Linked DNA regions of Homo sapiens: region 1 is linked to region 2. Evidence: promoter capture Hi-C in human tissues and cell types (Jung and others, 2019). All regions are on one chromosome and are shown on one strand. Each heading gives the region's core, a stretch centred on a gene start or on the middle of the fragment in contact. The rest is flanking DNA. Distances are from core to core; before and after follow the strand shown. Region 1 has its middle 26 kb from the start of DENND6A-DT. Region 2 holds the start of SLMAP (sarcolemma associated protein).

Region 1 (6,007 bases), core at 815-3,314, 36 kb after region 2:
TTAGAACATGTTTGATGTGGCTAAGGATGTGAGAACCTGATATTAGGAAGACTGACTTTCTGAATTGATGCATTAATTTGAACCTCAAGAGATACAACGGTGGGACCAGCAATGGAGAAGAGACAGAAGGAATAGAAATGAGAGCTGTTCAAGGGAAAAACTTACACATTTTGTGGATATGGAAAGTGAAGAAGATGAGCTACATGTGGGTGGTTTCATCCTTTGAACATTACAGGCAGGCATGTAAATACTTAGTAAATTGAATCAAAGTTAAAACCCAAAAAGGAGTGGGGAATTGGAGACAAAGAACCAAATTTCCCATCACTATATCAGCTGAGGATTTCCTTTCTATGCCTGTATTTCTACAACAATGATAATATTTGAAAATCTTTATGCTTCTCTTCATCTTGTCACCATTCTAGTCCAAGCCATCGTTGTCTCTCATCTGAATTATTGAAATTGCCTCTCAAAGTCTTCCCACTTCATTGTTATTTTCTCCTCCTCTGTATCAGGGTCCCCAAGACCACCCCCAGTTTCAATTATTTACTAAGGAGATTCACAGGACTCAGAATATAGTCATACTCACACCTGTGATTTATTACAGCAAAAAGATTCAAAGCAAAATCAGCAAAAGAAAAACTCATATGGGGCAAAGTTCAGAGGAAACGAGGCCCAAGCTTCCAAAGGTTCTCTTCCACTGGTATCACACGGGACATGCTTAATTCTCCCAGCGGCCAGGAGCAGTGGCTCACACCTGTAATCCCAGCACTTTGGGAGGCTGAGGCAGGGGGATCACCTGAGGTCAGGAGTTCAAAATCAGCCTGGCCGACATGGCGAAACCCCGTCTCTACTAAAAATACATAAATTAGCCGGGTGTGGTGGCAGGCACCTATAGTCCTAGCTACTTGGGAGGCTGAGACAGGAGAATCACTGGAACCCGGGAGGCAGAGGTGGCAGTGAGCCAAGATCACGCCATTGCACTCCAGCCTGGGAAATGGCTGTCTCAAAAAAAAAAAAAAAATTCTCCCAGCAATGGGTTGTGACAATACAAGTGAAATGTTGCCAACCAGATAAGTTTGTTAAAGACCCAGAACCCCAGGATTTTTTTTTTTTCTTGAGACAGAGTCTCACTCTGTCACCCAGGCTGGAGTGCAGTGGCACAGTGGTACGATCTCAGCTCACTGCAACCTCCACCTCCCGGGTTCAAGCGATTCCCCTGCCTCAGCCTCCTGAGTAGCTGGGATTACAGGTGCCTGCCACCACGCCTGGCTAATTTTTGTATTTTTAGTAGAGACGGGGTTTCCCCATATTAGCCAGGATGGTCTCGATCTTCTGACCTCGTGATCCACCTGTCTCAGCCTCCCAAAGTGCTGGGATTACAGGCGTGAGCCACTGCGCCTGGCCACACCCCAGGATTTTATGGGAGCTAGTTGCATAGGCACCCGCTGCCTATGCAAAATGTACCAAAATTCCTGATTCCTCACATGTACCAAAATCCCTGATTCCGCAAAGGAAAGCAGGTGTTCAGCATTACTGTGGTCTGAATACTTACATCCTTCCAAAATTCATATGTTGAAAACTTCACACACAAGGTGATGTTATTAGGAGGTGGGATCTGTGGGATGTGATTAGGTCATGGGAGCAGAGTGGGATTAGTCCCCTAATAAAAGAGGTCTGAGAGAGACTCCTCATCTTTCTACCATGTGAGGACTCAGTAAGAAGGTACCTTCTATGAACTAGACCCTCACCAGTCACTGAATCTACCAGTGCCTTGATCTTGGACATCCCAGCCTCCACAGCTGTGAGAAATAAATTTCTGTTGTTTATAAGAACAGAAACGGTTTATGCTATTTTGTTTTATCAGCCTGCATATAGACTAAGATAAGCATAAAGCACAGCATTCATACAGTTTAGACACAATGAGCCATTCTTGTCAGTTGGGTGGTGTAAACCCTCCCAAGATCCAAGTTCCAGCCAAGGACCACCCTTGTAAGTTGGACTTTCTTTTTGTTTTTTTTTTTTGTTTTGAGATAGGGTCTCACTCTGTTGCCTAGGCTGAAATGCAGTGACATGATCATAGCTCACAGCTGCCTTGAGCTACTGGGCTCAAGCAATCCTCCCACCTCAGCCTCCTGAGTAGCTGGGACTACAGGCATGCACTATCACTCCTGGGTAATTTTTTTTTTTTTTTGAAACAGAGTCTTGCTCTGTTGCCCAGGCTGGAGTGCAGTGGCACAATCTCGGCTCACTGCAACCTCCATCTCCTGGGTTCAAGCAATTCTCCTACCTCAGCTTCCTGAGCAACTGGGATTACAAGTGTGTGCCACCACACCCAACTATTTTTTGTATTTTTAGTAGAGATGGGGTTTCACCATGTTGGCCAGGCTTGTCTTGAACTCCTGACTTCAAGTGATCCACCCGCCTCAGCCTCCAAAAGTGCTGGGATTACAGGTATGAGCCACCACACACAGCCCTGGCAAATTTTTTGTAGAGATGTGGTTTCATCATGTTGTCTAGGCTGGTCTCGAACTTCTGGACTCAAGCAATCCTCCCACCTCAGCCTCCCAAAGTGCTGGGATTACAGGTGTGAGCCACTGCCCCCAGCTAAGCTGGATTTTCTTTTTCTTTCTTTCTTTCTTTTTTTTTTTTTTTTTTTGAGATGGAGTCTTGCTCTGTTGCCCAGGCTGGAGTGCAGTGGCACAATCTCAGCTCACTGCAGGCTTTGCCTCTCCTGAGTTCAAGCAATTCTCCTGACTCAGCCTCCCAAGCAGCTGGGATTATAGGCGCATGCCACCACACCCAGCTAATAATTTTTGTTTGTTTTGGCCCCCACCACTATGCCTAGCTAATTTTTTGTATTTTTGGCAGAAACGTGGTTTCACCATGTTGGCCAGGCTGTTCTCGAACCCTTGACCTCCTGATTCGCCCACTTCGGCCTCCCAAAGTGCTGGGATTATAGGCATGAGGCACCGCGCCTGGCCAATTTTTGTATTTTTAGTAGAAACGGAATTTCACCATGTTGGCCAGGCTGGTCTTGAACTCCTGACCTCAGGTGATCTGCCCGCCTCGGCCTCCCAAAGTGCTGGGATTACAGACACGAGCCACCACGCCCAGCCTAAGCTAGATTTTCAAAGGATTGCTATTGGACCTACTATTAACCATATTCTGCACACCTTCCAACCTATTATTCAGCCAATAACTAGAGCGAATCTTCTTAAGATATAAACCAGATTATATATGTTAGACTAAAATTCAAACTCTTACCATGGGGCACAATTCCCTGCATGACATTGACATTGCATTCCTCTCCAAACCCATCTCTTGCCAACTGTCCTCAGTATCACCTTCTAGCCACACTGGCCTCTAAGTTTCTAGAACATTATTGTCCAATAGAACTTTATGTGATGCACCTATAATCCCAGAACTTTGGAAGGCCGAGGCGGGCGGATCACGAGGTCAGGAGATCGAGACCATCCTGGCTAATACAGTGAAACCCCATCTCTACTAAAAATATAGAACTTTATGTGATGATAGGAATGTTCTTCTGCACTGTTCAGTTGTCTGTTGGTGTTCACCAACCATACATAATTATTGACCACTTGAAATGTGGCTAGTGCACCTGAGCAAATGAATTTTTAATTTTTTTCTTAATTTTAATCAACATAAATTTAAATAGCCAAATGTGGCTAATGGCTATTCTACTGCAGTTCTGGAACATATTATTGAGCTTTTCCTATTTTAAGGCCTTTTGTTGTGTGGGAAATTACCCTGATGCAATGGTAAACTTCAATTACACTATCAGGCAGGCTATCCCAAAGATCAAAGGACACAAGGTCTTACAGACCAAATTAAAATGCTTGAATCACATACAGTTTATTAAATCAACTTAGTCCAGGCATGATGGCTCACGCCTGTAATCCCAACACTTTGGAGGGCCAAGGTGGGTGAATCACTTGAAGTCAGGAGTTCAAGACTAGCCTGGCCAACATGGTGAAACCCCATTTCTACTAAAAATACAGAAAAAAAATTAGCCAGGCATGGTGGCACATGCCTGTAATCCCAACTACTAGGGAGGCTGAGGCAGGAGAATCACTTGAACCTGGGATGCAGAGATGGCAGTGACCCGAGATGGTGCCACTGTATTCCAGCCTAGGTGACAGAGCGAGACTCCATCTCAAAAAAAACAAAAACAAAAACAAAAAAACAACTTAAAACATACAGCAAAAAGCAAAAGGAAAGAAATGGGGTAAGTTAACACACAATTAGGGAAGGGTGCAAACAACATAGAAGGTTCACACTACATAAATCCTGGGTTATGCAATGTTGGTATGACCCTTCTCTGTTGGCATCAACCTCCTCTGTTGATGGACCAAAGTTGACGTTTAAGCAAAGGTGCCCACAGACAGAAGGTGCCCTGAGTCAGTGGCATACACTTGTTCTACCAGAAGGACTCAGGAGGAACACGTACACCTGGCCTACAGCAGTCGCTTGCCAATTAACTTGCCGAACAACTATGGGTTTTACTCAGGTTATGAGTTTGTGTTTTTTGGGCAGAGGACACATGCACCAGAATAGTTATTACCAATGAGTAGTTGAATTAAGACTTCATAAATATTAAGTGTTCATGTATATTTAGTGTATCCTGAATGTTAAATGTCTCGTATATATTTAACTTCTCATGAATATTTAGCGTCTAGGTCCCTCATGCATATTTATGCCTCATGAATATTATTTTTGGTTCTTTCATTTCTTTTTATCTACATTTAAAACACACATGCTCTATCCACTAATTACTTATCTATATTTAACTCATCTTAGGAGTTTCCTCTATCCCATTTGTTTTTTATTTTTTCCTGCAGCATAACTCAGTATTCTCAAACAGTATGACAAATGTACATTTCACCTCTGCACACATTTCTGCTCTGTAGTGACCTTCCTCTGGCTCCTATCATAACAAGTTCCTGTAGGTGTTTTCGGTCTCAGTGGAAATGTCACCTCCTCTGAGAGGCCTTCCCCCATTAACTATCTGTTATGGATTGAATTAGGTCCCTCATCCCAAATTCTCATGTTGAAATTCTAACCCCCAATGTGACTGTATTTGGAGATAGGGCCTTCAGTGAGGTAATTAAGGTTAAATGAGGTCATAAGGGTTGAGCCTTAATCCAATAGGATTTTTGTCCTTATAAGAAGAGGAAGAGACAGGCAGGGCACGTTGACTCACGCCTGTAATCCCAGCACTTTGCGAGGCTGAGGCGGGTGGATCATCTGAAGTCAGGAGTTTGAGACCAGCCTGGCCAACATGGTGAAACTCTGTCTCTACTAAAAAATACAAAAAAAATTAGCCAGGCATGGTGGCAGGCACCTGTTATCTCAGCTAGTCGGGAGGCTGAGGCAGGAGAATTGCTTGAACCTGGGAGGTGGAGGTTGCAGTGAGCCGAGATTGCTCCACTGCACTCCAGCCTGGGCAACAAGAGCAAAACTCCATCTCAAAAGAAAAAAAAAAAAAAGAAGAAGAGGAAGAGACAACAGAGGCCAAGTAAAGTGGCTCATGCCTATAATTCCAACACTTTGGGAGGCCAAGGTGGGAGGATTGCTTGAGCCTGGAAGTTTGAGACCTGGGCAACATAGTAATACTCTGTCTCTACAAAAAAAAAAAAAAAAAAAAATAGCTGAGTGTGTAGAGTGTGTCGGTAGTCCCTGCTGCTCGGGAGGCTGAAGTGGGGGATCACTTGAGTCCTGGAGGTCAAGGCTGCAGCAAGCTGAGATCGCGCCACTGCAGTCCAGCCTGGGGGACAGATCAAGACCCTGTCTCAAATTTTAAAAATTAAAAATAAATAAAATTGAATGAAAAAAAAGAGAGACAACAGAGAATCTGTGTGTGTGTGTGTGTGTGTGTGTGTTGTGTGTGTGTGTGTGTGTGTGTGTATACAGAAGAAAAGCCACATAAGGACACAGCAAGAAGGCAGCTGTCTATAAGCCAGGAAAAAAGGCCTCACCAGAAATCTAA
Region 2 (6,728 bases), core at 3,949-6,448:
CCTGGCCAACATGGTGAAACCCTGTCTCCACTAAAAATACAAAAATTAGCCAGGCATGGTGATGAATGCCTGTAATCTCAGCTACTTGAGAAGCTGAGGTAGGAGAATCTCTTGAATCCAGAAGGTATAGGTTGCAGTGAGCTGAGATCGCACCACTGCACTCCAGCCTGGGTGACAGAGCCAGACTCCGTCTCAAAAAAACAAAAAACAAAAACAAAAACAAAATTTATTCTATATATGCCATCACATTAAAGAAAATAATTTCTCATCACCTTCCTAAGACTCCATAGCACTATAGCAAATTGCACAGTGTTGTCTAAATAGTTCCCTCTTCCCCACTAAACACCCTCTCTGCTGAGTATTGGGTGCTTAGTAAGAGCCAGGGACAGGGTGCTAAGTGATTTATATAATTACCTCAATTCTCAAAACAATAATAGGTACCATTATCATCCCCAGATGTTTAAAAAAAAAAAAAAACCTGGCCGGGCGCGGTGGCTCATGCCTGTAATCCCAGCACTTTGGGAGGCTGAGGTGGGTGGATCACCTGAGGTTGGGAGTTCAAGACCAGCCTGACCAACATGGAGAAACCCTGTCTCTACTAAAAACTCAAAATTAGCCACGCGTGGTGGCGCATGCCTGTAGTCCCAGCTACTCGGGAAGCTGAGGCAGGAGAATCACTTGAACCCAGGAGGGAGAGGATGTGGTGAGCCAAGATCGCGCCATTGCACTCCAGCCTGGGCAACAAGAACGAAACTCCTTCTCTGAAGGGATTCTTTTTTTTTTTTTAAGAGACAGGGTCTTGCTTTGATACCCAGGCTGGAGTGCAGTGGCATAATCACAGCACTGCAACCTCAAACTCCTGGGCTCAAGCAACCCTCGTGCCTCAGCATCCCGAGTAGGTGGGACTACAGACACTGCAAATTTCATACGAGAACTATTTGGTCGCACTGTGGGTTTTCTTTGGAACTGTATCCCTCACAGTGTCTGGCACATAATAGATGCTCAATTAAAACCTACTATCTGTCCAAACCAAAACTTTAAATAGTTAATTCCTAAAACAATTCAATGACATGGTAAGATCTGACAGAGCATCCGCTATAACTAGATTAAGTGGTATAATAATCAATAATTACATCTATATCTAAAGTAGTGGTCTCATAGCCTGCGTGTTATTTTAGCTAATAAAGCAGGAGGAAAAAAGTGAAAATGGTAGAAATAAGCCATATCTACCATTCAAAGATAAGTTTTTCTGAAGAACTAATTTCATGGCCGGGTGTGGTGGCTTATGCCTGTAATTCCAGCACTTTGGGAGGCCGAGGAGGGTGGATCACTTGAGGTCAGGCGTTCAAGACCACCCTGGCCAACATGGTGAAACCCAGTATCTACGAAGAATATAAAAATTAGCTGGGCATGGTGGCATGCGCCTGTGATCCCAGCTACTCAGGAGGCTAAGACACAAGAATCGCTTGAACCCAGGAGGCAGACGTTGCAGTGAGCTGAGGTTGCGCCACTGCACTCTAGCCTGGCCACAGAGCGAGACTCCATCTCAAAGAAAAAAAACAAATATTAACATGTCATCTCAATTCATGAAACAGTCACTACTGACCTATTCTTAGTTATCTCAAAATAACCTATTGTGAGAGTTTTAGTACAGCCATGGAAAGCACTGGGCATGAAATCAGTATTTTTCAAATAAGTAAAACAAAAAATGGGAGTCCCCTTCGAGTGTTTCATCAAAGAAAGTGCATTCGCAGAGTATGTACTGTGAGCCAACCTGTTGTCTGATTAGTTTAGACCTGTTGCCCAAGAACATAAAATGGTGAAAATGTAAAAGCTGGTTGAGTTAAGGCACTACTTAGTAGTAAACTGATGTTTGAATTCAACTGCTGGAAAAATGAGTTCTATGAATATTCATTTTAAAGAATTATGAGGGCCAGGTGCAGTGGCTCACGCCTGTAATCCCAGCACTTTGGGAGGTTGAGGCAGGTGGATCAACTGAGGTCAGGAGTTCAAGACCGCCTGGCCAACATGGTGAAACCCTGTCTCTACTAAAAATACAAAATTAACCAGGCATGGTGGCGTGTGCCTGTAATACCAGCTACTTTGGAGGCTGAGGCAGGAGAATCACTTGAACCCGGGAGGCAGAGGTTGCAGTGATCTGAGATAGCGCCACTGCACTCCAGCCTGGGTGACAGGAGCAAAAATCTGTCTCAAAAAAAAAAAAAAAGGATTACGAGTAATCTATGAAGTATTTTAGGCACCCTAACTTCAGCTTGCGAGGAGCGAGTGAAGGGTCTGTTCCACAGGTAAATGAGGATCTGGTGTTAAACAGAAAAGTTAACATACTCTTCAGTTCTCATCCTACACGTAAAGTATAGATATTATGCAGCACACAGCACTTGGACAATCTTTTCCTCCTTTCTTTAAAAAATAATTTACAAAATAATTCCTTAAATCAGTAGCTGCCGAAGTATCATTTTTTTCTCTTCCTTTTGAGGCTCAGGTTTCTTTCATTTCAAAACATATTCTTGAAGACTTAAGTTCTTCCTTTAAGAAAGATTTAATTATTTAACTCAGAAAGAGGGGCAAAAAGTCAGGAGGTGAAACCTGAGACAGTCCTATTAGTCTTACATAACTTAAAGTTGGAACTGATTCAGTAGCTCAGCTAAAAACCTGAGGTTTAGGCACAAAGATGAGCTCTTTAGTATACTCTCCACAAACATAAATAAACAGTTTTTAAAAATGGAAAGGATCTTAATTTCTTTCTTCACTTCTTAAAATAAAAGCACATACATGTATAGTAACTTACGATACTAACATAAAAATACTAAATTGGTTACGCTTAAAATGAAAAGCACTGAATTCATCGTATCACATTTAAGTAATGCTATAATTGACAGAATAGGGTATAATTTCAGAAAGTAAGTTTATTTCCTAACACTAACTTTTGAATAGCACCTCTGTAAGTATGCATTAAGTACTTAATAAGTGCTGCAGGGAACATCAAAAAGTGATTTTCAAACGCAATATGTGTATGTTCTCCAACTTGTAAAAAAAACTCTGAAAATATATAAAGTTACAGTTGTTCATGCTTAATTAAATTAGCTTTGATTATTGCAAATTACTCCTCCAAGGGCAAGTATGTATCAAACCTTTCAAAAATCTTAGGTTTATATCAGCAATTATCCTTACTAGAAAGGTCCTGATCTGAACTCACCTAAAGCTATGTGTTAACTACATTTCACCACTAAGACACTTGAGCCCCGGGATAATAATGGCCACGGATTCCCCGAATTGCTTCGAGAACTGCTGCTTGCTTAATAAAGCGCTGAACTGTGAATTCACCTTTCTAAACAGACTAAAAGCAAGACGCCAAGTTTCACTATCTAGTTTGGGATTTCACTGGGAATGACCACGTTATCAAGATGCCATAGCCCTCCTGAGGCTTTTAATTACAATACCTTCTCTGTTTTCCATTCAACCACCTCAATCAAATTTCCACTAGAACCAGGCACACAAACAGTTGATTCGTGGCTTTGCGCAAAGCCTCCTCTGGATGCAAACCCTGGGATCCTGCATACATTAGTCCTCTCAGGGAGGGCAAAAGGGGAAAAAAAGTTTGTTAAACAATGCCGCTGGACAATGTGGTGACATTACCTTGCCCGTCTTGTGATCAAACCAGACGAGAGCGTGGTTCCTTGATAGCACTTTGCAATCAAAAGTGGCATTATTCTGCGCTGGTCGACAGCGGGCCACTGAGCGGCCGATTTTGATGGGCTCGTCCAGGTAGACATGACGCTCCTGAAACGGGTGCGAGTTCGGGCGGCAAGTGAAGATGGCCAAGGCTGACGGCATCGAGGATAGACTGGGGGTGTCTCTCCTACCAGGGACAAAGAGGAGTTCCTCCGGATCCGGACTGCCCTTCACAAGCCTATGCCCCTATCCCACCCAAAATTTTAAATTAACACAAACTGCACATTGTCTAAGCATAACCAGTGAACATCAACTCTTCACTTGGGTGGGAAGACAAGCCAGCGCAAGCCCCATCACCTCCTTTAAAACGCTGCAACGCCGTGATCACAAAAAGTCCCCAACTGGCAGCTTTCAGTCCATCTTCTTCTCTGGGAAGAAAAGGCTCAAACATCGGGCAGCTTCGGCCAAGAAAACTCCTGGAACACAGTTTGGGGACTGGAGGTATCCAAGCAGATGAGTCACACGCCAATTCTTGTGTTTGGTTTGAGATCGCGGCCGCTTTTCCCCCTTGGTGGCGGAAACGTTGCAGCACTGCAGCATGAATGAAGGGTCGGTTCGGCGCGGCCAGGAAAGTCCTTTTGGGCCGAAGGAAGGTGTGGCTGGGCACCTCTGGGCAGCCACCGCCAGTCCTCGCCCGGAGTGAAGGGGCGAGAGGTGACGGAGACGGAGGGGCTCTAGACGGCCGGCGGGACAGTCTGCATCGCCCCTGCTGAGCGGAGGCCGCCCCGGGAAGGGGGACGCGGTCCCCGGCCTGGCACGATCCGAGACGGCGGTGGCTGAGGTTCTCCGCGCGAGGCGTGGAGGCCGGCGGGGCGCGGGCAGTGGCCAAGTCGGGACTCCTGGGCACCTGGCGAGCGTCCCCGCGACCAGGGCGGGGACCCGGCTCCGCAGGCCGGTGCGGACCGAGCGAGGCGCGACACCGGGAGGCTCGAGTTCCCAGGCGGCAGGAAGTTGGTCCCCGGACGCCTAGGCTTCTGGGCCGCCGCTCAGCACATGGGCCGCCTCCCCTCAGGGTCGCCCCCGCGAGGGTCGCATCTCAGGGACGGCAGCCGCAGCTCCCGGCGGACGAGAAGGTGGGGGAGGGAGACTGGCCCGGAGGTTGGGGAGAGGCCTTGAGGCCCCGGGCTGGATCCGCCGCAGCCTCCACCGATCGCGGCCGATGGGGCAAGCTCAAGCTGCGCCCGACGAGGCAGGAAACTTTCCGACCTGGTGGGGAAAACATCAAAACAAACGGCCGTCAGGCGCCTCAGCCCGCCCGCCTCAGCCGTCGCCCCCTCCAGCCAGACCCCCGCCAGCCCACACCGCTAGGCACGACCTCCGCCGACCTCTCCGCAAGCAGGCTACGAGGATTTGGAGCCAGGACGCCACGACGGGTCCTACCTCCCTAGCCGCCACCACCGCCTCAGCTTACCTTGCCAGCGCCGGCCGCCATAGTGACTCTGACTGAAACCTACCCGGTGCACCGCCACGGGAACGCGCACCCTTCAAGGGCCCTCCTACCCCCTCTCCCGCGCCGTAGTCCAGGAATGTCACGTGAACGACGCCACGGAAGCCGTGTTGGTAGAGGGCAGAAAAAAGGGCAAGGTAATTTTTAACGGGCCTCCAGGCGCCATCTTAGTTAAGGGCTGGAAGCTTCAAACCTCGGGACAACCTTAACGACCATTTTGGTTAAGGGCAAGAACAATTTGCGCCGTAGAAGGTTTTTCAAACAAACAGTGCCACCTTCTTATTTTATCTACTTAGCAAGGGGGTGCCAACTTTTACTAAATTTTATTCTGTTTAATTCTCGATGAAAATACTAGCGAGCAAAAGAACAGACCCAGCCAAAGGAGATGGTCATTAGCAGCCATCTTAGCTGTGGGCAACACAGTCACCCGCAGCTACCTTAAGTGTGAGCCGCCAAACTCCCTGAAGTCTTAGGATTTGTGCACCTAACAGAAGGACCATTCTCCCCTCTGCTAAATTCGTTATGTTTTCTTCCCGGAAAAAAAAAATCTTAGTTCCCGCATTCCATTTCGAATGACAGTCTTTCTCACTGAACCTATTATGTGCCCCCAGGGCTCCTGCGCGGATTCTTCCACAGAAGGAGCGTCCAGAAAGTTTAAAATCATGTTTCTTCCAAAGAGAGATTGAATAATTTCCAAAGTGAAAAAAGAGGGTATTTCCCCCACTTACAATATCAAGATGAGGAGTCATTGGTCTAAAGAAGGAAGACTTTGCAAGGGCTAAATGAAAACTTTAAGAAAAAATAGTGAGAAGGAGACTTACTCATTTAGAATCAAAGGTGACTTCATTCTTCAGATTCCTGCAATAACAGGCTCCACCACTGTGTGACCTTAAGCAAGTTTCTAAACTTTTTCAAGCCTCTTTTTTCTCATGGATGACATGTTAATAATAGTTAATTCACTTGATGTGGTGAGACTTCAAAATGTTAATCCATGTTGTTCAATAAAGAGTAGCAATTAGGCCGGGCGCGGTGGCTCACGCCTGTAATCCCAGCACTTTGGGGGGGCCGAGGCAGGCGGATCACCTGAGGTCGGGAGTTTGAGACCAGCCTGACCAACATGGAGAAACCCCGTCTCTACTAAAAATACATAATTAGCCGGGCGTGGTGGCGCATGCCTGTAATCCCAGCTACTTGGGAGGCTGAGGCAGGAGAATCACTTGAACCCGGGAGGCGGAGGTTGCGGTGAGCCAAGATCGCGCCATTGCAGTCCAGCCTGGGCAACAAGAGTGAAACTGTCTCTCCAAAAAAAAAAAAAAAAAGAAAGAAAGAAAGAAAAAGTAGCAGTTATTCATCTCAATACTTATATAGACAGTTTGGCCGTGTCCTAGGTTTTTGCTGGGCCCTGGGGACACATAACTGAACCAAACTTCAATTCCTGCCTTCTGAGATCATAACGGTATTGTGGGTTAGAAATGAGGGTAGGGAGTGACAAACATGAAATTGATGTAATCAGGGCTAAGATAGAGGC

Evidence for each region. The method cuts DNA at HindIII sites, captures the fragments that hold promoters and counts their contacts. A contact is called where the count stands out against the background at its distance.
Region 1: a contact is called between a fragment that was not itself captured here and the fragment with the promoter of SLMAP in region 2, in 1 of the 25 tissues and cell types used here (pancreas).

What each region holds. Positions count from the first base shown.
Region 1 is chr3:57,716,117-57,722,123 of GRCh38, reverse strand. No RefSeq gene overlaps it. Among named protein-coding and RNA genes, the nearest start is that of DENND6A-DT, 26 kb to the right of the region's middle. The HindIII fragment of the contact is 6,101 bases long and covers 1-5,114 here.
Region 2 is chr3:57,754,779-57,761,506 of GRCh38, reverse strand. It overlaps SLMAP (sarcolemma associated protein), which reads right to left and starts at 5,198. Exons shown (of 25, transcript NM_001377540.1): 1 at 5,165-5,198; 2 at 3,658-4,959. The coding sequence starts at 3,855. RefSeq lists a silencer at 4,461-4,740 and enhancers at 4,288-5,189, 5,111-5,290, 5,321-5,600, 5,190-6,092. The HindIII fragment of the contact is 9,488 bases long and covers 1,381-6,728 here.